2 separate regions of the Homo sapiens genome follow, and region 2 is linked to region 1. Evidence: promoter capture Hi-C in human tissues and cell types (Jung and others, 2019). All regions are on one chromosome and are shown on one strand. The core of a region is centred on a gene start or on the middle of the fragment in contact, and the rest is flanking DNA. Distances in the headings are between cores, read along the strand shown.

The links. The method cuts DNA at HindIII sites, captures the fragments that hold promoters and counts their contacts. A contact is called where the count stands out against the background at its distance.
Region 2: a fragment that was not itself captured here is called in contact with the fragment with the promoter of BRF2 in region 1 in 1 of the 25 tissues and cell types used here (IMR-90 fibroblasts).

The regions. Positions count from the first base shown.
Region 1 is chr8:37,847,793-37,851,558 of GRCh38, reverse strand. It overlaps BRF2 (BRF2 general transcription factor IIIB subunit), which reads left to right and starts at 1,698. Exons shown (of 4, transcript NM_018310.4): 1 at 1,698-1,929; 2 at 2,904-2,963. The coding sequence starts at 1,776. RefSeq lists enhancers at 1,493-1,842, 1,883-2,022. The HindIII fragment of the contact is 10,485 bases long and covers 1-3,766 here.
Region 2 is chr8:38,118,903-38,122,302 of GRCh38, reverse strand. ASH2L (ASH2 like, histone lysine methyltransferase complex subunit) reads right to left here. Exons shown (of 16, transcript NM_004674.5): 9 at 2,940-3,033; 10 at 1,154-1,371. Among named protein-coding and RNA genes, the nearest start is that of ASH2L, 15 kb to the right of the region's middle. The HindIII fragment of the contact is 6,776 bases long and covers 1-3,400 here.

The DNA.
Region 1 (3,766 bases), core at 449-2,948:
TCCTAGGCTCCCAGTAAGTACATCATGTGTGACTGGGAAAGACAACCAGCTTTCTCCTTCCGTGGCTGGCTGCAGGATCATAAAACTGCTTTTCCACTTTACAATCAATCAGGTTGGGTCAGGCAGGATTTCAAGGCTTCTGTCCTAGGTAGATGGGCTCTGTAAAGTCCCGCTTAAAAAAAAAGTGAAGGTAGGTTCAAGATCTGCACACAACTGGGGATGAGGGGAGTCTGATGCTCTGCTGTGTGATCATGCAAGGAACTGTTCCCAGTGCAAGTTATGTCGCTTTCAGGGACACTTTCTTCATCCAAATAAGAATGTCAACCACACTAAAACTAATGGATGTCTCTGAGTGGTGTGTGTGTGCGGGTGCGCATGTGCAAATGTATCTTAATATTTAACTGTCAGACAGCCAGAAATAAGCTCTCATCCTGTATCTCACGCTAGTGGGGAGGTCTAGAAAAGGCGGGGGGGCTTGGACTGCCGGATCCCACCCACGATTAATGTGCTGAAGCCCCCTTCTGTTATGATACTAAAGTAATTCAAATTGAAGAGAAAGGACCGTTGGGTATTATTGTGTCTCTTGGCCCTCCAATGTGAGCGATCCCCATGGGAATGGACGGGATGTCTCTGAAAAGGAGTAGTGATTCTCACACTCTGAGAAAGCAGTCTCTTAGGGAAGGGATGGTGTCTTTAGGTTTGGATATCACGTGTAAAAACTGGGTGTGGAAAAGAAGGGAGTGACACTTCTTAAAGGTATGTTTTATTTTGTTTGAGATGGAGTCTCGCTCTGCCACCCAGGCTGGAGTGCAGTGGCGCGATCTTGGCTCACTGCGCCTCCTGCGCCTCCTGGGTTCAAGCGATTCTCCTGCCTCAGCCTCCTGAGTAGCTGGGATTAGAGACGTGCACCACCACGCCCAGCTAATTTTTGTGTATTTTTAGTAGAGACGGGATTTCACCATGTTGCCCAGGCTGGTCTCAAACTCCCGAGCTCAGGTGATCCACCTGCCTCGGCCTTCCAAAGTGCTGGGATTACAGGCGTGAGCCACCACGCCCAGATAGCTCAAGGTTTTTTAAAAAACATCTGAATCTGCGTGCTTGCGCCGCTCCAGGTCTCCATCACTCCATATTCTTTCACTCCAAACTCCTTTAGACATTCCTGCCTGGCCTCCAAAAGCGTTTGGGTTTGCATCTCTGGATTTTTTTTTCAACTTCCTCATTTTACAGTTGAGAAAAACAGGAGGTAAAGAGAGGAAGGAATCTGCTTTAGGAAGCAGCTCTGGAAAGCAGAACACAGTTTCCTGCTCCCGCTCTCTCTCCACTACTCTCCCTTTAAAAAATATACTTTCTTCTATGGCCAATTAAACATTCATTACCAACCTGCGATTCCCTTAGGACTTTAAAAGGAGGGTTGTTCAGGGGTGACAACAATCTTCTGTCTGTTATACGTGTCCATGTAGGCAAAAACTTTCCCAAATTCAACCCCAGTCTAGGTCCCAAAAACTAACTACAGAGTGCAGGGAAACCAGACAGCTACAGTTCAGCCCAGGAACCTCCTCTCCTAGCTCACGTTTCTACCCGAGCCCGCGGAGGCACAGACCGGAAGTGGCGCGCAGCCTCCCAGCGGAGGGAACCGCCTATGCCTCCGTCGCGCTGGCCGGAAGACGGGGGTGCAACCCTTTGAAGTGTCCCCTCCTACTTCTTGCTGCCTCACGGTTGCTGTTGCAGACCCAGGAGTCTCTGAAGGCTTCCGCGGCTTTGGGGCCGGTTGTGAGATGCCAGGCAGAGGCCGCTGCCCGGACTGCGGCTCCACGGAGCTGGTGGAAGACTCGCACTATTCGCAGAGCCAGCTGGTGTGCTCCGACTGCGGCTGCGTGGTCACCGAGGGGGTCCTTACCACTACCTTCAGCGACGAGGGCAATCTCCGAGGTACTTGTGGCCCTGGGGACAGCCTGGGGCGGTGGAGGGATTAACATCAGATTCCTTTTGCCTCCCCGCTCCCCCCATACTCCTAACTGTAACGCACACACTTAATTTGAGAGAAAATGACCTAAAGTGAGCGAGGGAGCTGAAGGAGATGGGGGCTGCCATTCATCTGTGTTTTCCCAGCACTTAGTATCGGGCATAGATGGTGCGTGTAATAAATATTGAATAAGTGAGACAGAAACAAAAGTTCCACTCATCTTGCCATGTCTGGTCATTGTGGAAGGATTGCCGATACGATTATAGCAGGTATTATTACCCTGAAATAGTTTTAAGCACAAACTGGCAAAACATCACTTTTCTTTGCTTTCCAAGTTTCTGACCAGTGCAGCCCTCAAAATCTGCAGCCATTGTCTGGGTGGGGTGGCTTACGCCTGTAATCCCAGTGCTTTGGGAGGCAGAGCCGAGAGGATTGCTTGAGCCCAGGATCTCGAGACCAGCCTTGGTAACGTAACGAGACAAGTGCCTAAAAAAATTTTTTTTTAATTAGCCAGGTATGGTGGCATACACCTGTAATCCCAGCTACCCAGGAATCTGAGGTAGGAGGATTGCTTGAGCCTGGAAGTTGAAGGCTGCCGTGAGCTGTGATCGCACCACTGTGCTCCAGCCTGGACTATAGAGGGAAACTCCTTAAACAAACAACAACAAAATCTGCTGCTAGGAAAATTGCCTGTATGGAATGTACTGGAAGGATGACTGGAAATTTGGAACACTTGGAGCTGCTTTAATGCAGTCCTAACCTTTCCCAGTCTCTGTGTATTCGGAACCTCTTGTAGACATAGAAAACCAGATGGGGCCTTTAACTGTGCAGCAGCAGATGCTCAATGATTTGAATTTTGCGTCCTGGTTTTGTGTGGTGGGAGGGCAGGGGTCTGATGAATAAAGGCTAAGCACACTATTTGTTGTTTATTATCTTACAGAGGTAACATATTCCCGAAGCACAGGGGAAAACGAACAAGTTAGTCGCAGCCAGCAACGAGGTGAGAATTGACCTTTTACAACACAGTGGCTTTAAAGAAAACTATCCTAGGCCAGGTGCTGTGGCTCACGCCTGTAATCCCAGCACTTTGGGAGGCCTAGGCAGGTGGATCACCTGAGGTCAGGAGTTCAAGACCAGCCTGGCAAACATAGCGAAACCCCGTCTCTACTAAAAATACAAAAATTAGCTGGGCATGGTGGCATGTACCTGTAGTCCCAGCTACTTGGCAGGCTGAGGCAGGAGAATCGCTTGAACCTGGGAGGTGGAGGTTGCAGTGAGCTGAGATCGCGCCACTGCACTCCAGCCTGGGTGACAGAGTGAGACTCCATCTCAAAAAAATAATAATGAGCCGGGCGCGGTGGCTCATGCCTGTAATCCCAGCACTTTGGGAGGCCGAGGCGGGCGGATCACGAGGTCAGGAGATTGAGACCATCCTGGTTAACACGATGAAACCCCATCTCTACTAAAAATACAAAAAAATTAGCCGGGCGTGATGGTGGGTGCCTGTAGTCCCAGCTACTCGGGAGGCTGAGGCAGGAGAATGGCGTGAACCCGGGAGGCGGAGCTTGCAGTGAGCCGAGATCGCACCACAGCACTCCGGCCTGGGTGACAGAGCGAGACTCTGTCTCAAAAAATAATAATAATAATAATAATAATAATAATAATAAAAGAAAACTATCCTGGTGGCCTAGCCCAGCTTTTCACTTTTCCTATTTTCAGCATTGCTGGTGTGAGGTAGAGTAGAAGAGAATGGTAATTAGGAATTTAAAATGGGGATGGTGGCTCACACCTGTAATCCCAGAC
Region 2 (3,400 bases), core at 566-3,065, 270 kb before region 1:
CACAGAAAATATAAGATTGGCCAGGAACACCTTTTGATGCCTCAAAGTAAAGAAATTTTTTTTTTAAAAAAAGACACGGCTTATCGAAAGAACACAAGAACCAACTTCTTGAAGAAGCTCCTACTTGCCAAAGCTGGAATAATTTAAACAACAAAATAATCAAAGTATTGGATTATACTCCCTGAAATAAAGTAAATATATATGAGTCCATACTGATATAAATAATCAATTAACAGAAAAGGGAAAGAGGAAATCGAAAATCATCATACAACACAGTCATAATTGTTGCAGACAATATCCACTGATGGGTGCTAAAATTAGTGAACATAAGTTTAAAAACAAACAAGATATTTGCATAGATAGACTCGATGTATTTTTGCCTAAGACATTTGTTAAGTATAAGGGAAAGACGGTAGTTTTTTACAGTGGAGAAAGCTAGCAGAATCACCTTAACCAAATGATCATGGTCAACGTAACCAATAAGACCTACTGACATCATGAATCCCATGAGATGATGCTATAAGACATTGTTTCCGTGTTATTCTTCCCCAAACTGCCTAACTTCAGTCTAATCATGAGAAAACATCAGACAAATCTTCACTGAGGAATATTCAACAAAATAACTGATTAAAACACTTAAAAATATCATGGTCATGAAAGATAAGCAATGGCTTTGGAACTGTTAAAGACTATAATAGACTAAAGAGAAATAATTAAGTGTGAGTGGAAAAACTGGTAAAATTGAAAGGTCTTTCTCTAGTTGTGTTGATAATATTTACCAATGTTAATTTCCCAGTTTTGATAACTGTACTATGGTTTTCTAAGATATTATCATTAGGAAAAGCTTGATGAGAAAGAAAACTTATTTTTGGCAACTTTACTGCAAGTTTAAAATTAGTTCAAAATAGAAAGTTTTAAAAAACCATATATATATATATATATATATATATATATATATATATATATATAAATAAAACGGCTGGAGCTTATAGGAAGGAACAGAATTTCTTGCACATTCTGGATGAATCTAGACAGAGATGGGGGTGAGGCAGTGGCAACAGACTGAGATGTACACCTAATTCTAGACTGACAAGGCTAATGATGGCAGTTCAAAGTAACCCTGCATCCATATGATCTCCAATACTTTACATACCTCGATCATGTAGGGCTAACAAAACCCGTTCATACAAGCAGGCTCTGTAGAGGTCTCCAGGAATAGGTTTTCCTGCCCAGCAGTCAAGTTCCAGCTTCTCGGGGTCAGGGGCGTGCGGATCAGGCTCAGCTAGAATATACCGATAGCCATCTTTGTTAAACGGGTGTTCCAATGGGTAGCCATGAGGGGGAAGGCGCTGAGCAGAAAACAAAGGGTCACTGCAGAAAGGAAAAAATAACATCAAAAAACTAAAACCCCCTTTAGCTCAAATGCATTCAACTGTGTAAGAAAGGCCTCTGGTTTATTTCAGCTAGAATACATGCAACTTCACAGCAAATACTTCTCATTACTCAAATAAGTAACTCTGCCCTCTTCAGGCAAAACAAGGAAGTGAAAAGGATTAGCTTTATTGAGCAAGGTAGTTTTGGTGAAATTACTTGTAGATTGTGGATATCTTCCCAGTGGTCTTTAAACATGAATTGATGTCTATGAAACTGAGCTGGTACATTATGCGGGGGGGGGGGGGGGGGGAAGGGAGGAGAGGAATGGGGGTGATTAGGGTGATAGTCTTTAGTATACTGATTATTATAAAGTAATGAACAGAAGCTCAGAGACATAAGCACTTGCTATCTTGCTAATCTAAGTAAATAACTTGTGCAGTGAGCCGAGATTCCATCACTGCACTCCAGCCTGGGTGATAGAGCAAAACTCCATCTCACAAAAATATATAAATAAATAAGCAACCTGGATTTCATCACCTCAGCTTTAGACAAAGGGAAGGGAAAAGGCATGAGAAGGGAGAAGCAGAAAGTTAAGGAGCTAAAGGAGCTAACATTCAACACTGGTTTCACTCCCTCCCCACCTATCCTTTCTCAAGTCGCCTTAACAGAACTTCACTCCCTAGGTTCCCCAGGCTTATCACCAGAAGACACTATACTTGTTACTACTATAAATTTTGTACTAACAAATGTATGTACACTTAAATGTAAAACATGACACTTAAACTTGGGTTTGTTTTGTTTTTTTGAGACAGTTTCGTTCTCGTGGCCCAGGCTGGAGTGCGATAGCGCGATCTCAGCTCACTACAACCTCTGCCTCCTGGGTTCAAGCAATTCTCCCACCTCAGCCTCCCGAGTAGCTGGGATTATAGGCACGTGCCCCCAGGCCCAGCTAATTTTTTTGTTTTTTGTTTCAGTAGAGATGGGGTTTCACCACATTGTCCAGGATGGTCTCAAACTCCTGACCTCAGGTGATTCACCTGTCTCAGCCTCCCAAAGTGCTGGGATTACAGGCATGACCCACCGTGCCCGGCCTGGGGTTATTATTTTTGTTTTTTGTTTTGTTTTTGAGACGGAGTCTCATTCTGTTGCCCAGGATGGAGTGCAGTGGCATGATCTTGGCTCACTGCCACCCGCCTCCCAGGTTCAAGCGATTCTCCTGCCTCAGCCTCCCAAGTAGCTGGGATTACAGGCGCTCACCACTACACCTGCCTAATTTTGTATTTTTAGTGGAGATGGGGTTTCGCCATGTTGGCCAGGCTGGTCTCAAACTCCTGGCCTCAAGTGATCCACCCTCCTTGACCTCCCAAAGTGCTGGGATTACACGCATGAGCCACTGCGCCTGGCCTCCAACCTGGGGTTATTTTGTCCCTCAAAGTGCTCAAGGTTTAGAAAAAATGGACAGGCTTTTTAACCTCCGACCCTTGAACTCTCTTCCCTCTGCTGGACTTTCCCAGCACCAAATAATACTTAAATAGTGAGGGGGGCAGGGTGGGCACTCTCCCCACCTCCGGGCCTTCTTGGTGGTCCCTGTGGTCCCTCCATCCTGCTGTTTGCGCTTGGCTCCTCGTCCTTTTCCGCTGCTTCCTGCTGCAATTCCCCCTTTGAAGAGAAGGCAGATTGCTTTCAATGAGCCACAAGGGAAACACCATGTGGATACTGAAATTCCATAGGGACCAACACACCCAATGTGCATTTGTGTAACACCACAGGAGGATTTCCTTCCAAAGGCATATTGGATTTCACCCTAGTTTTCAAAGAATCTACTGAGCATCTCATAGCCTGGGAACACTGGGTTCTGGCAATAAACTCAAATGAATCCAGCACTATGATGGTTGGGTTACAGTTTTCAACCTTTGTTCCTAATAAACTGCAACTATTGGTATACTTTCTCAGGGTGTGACACAAATGCATTCTCACTCATTCAGATCCCAAACACCCACAGCTAAAAAGAATGAAAACAACTGTA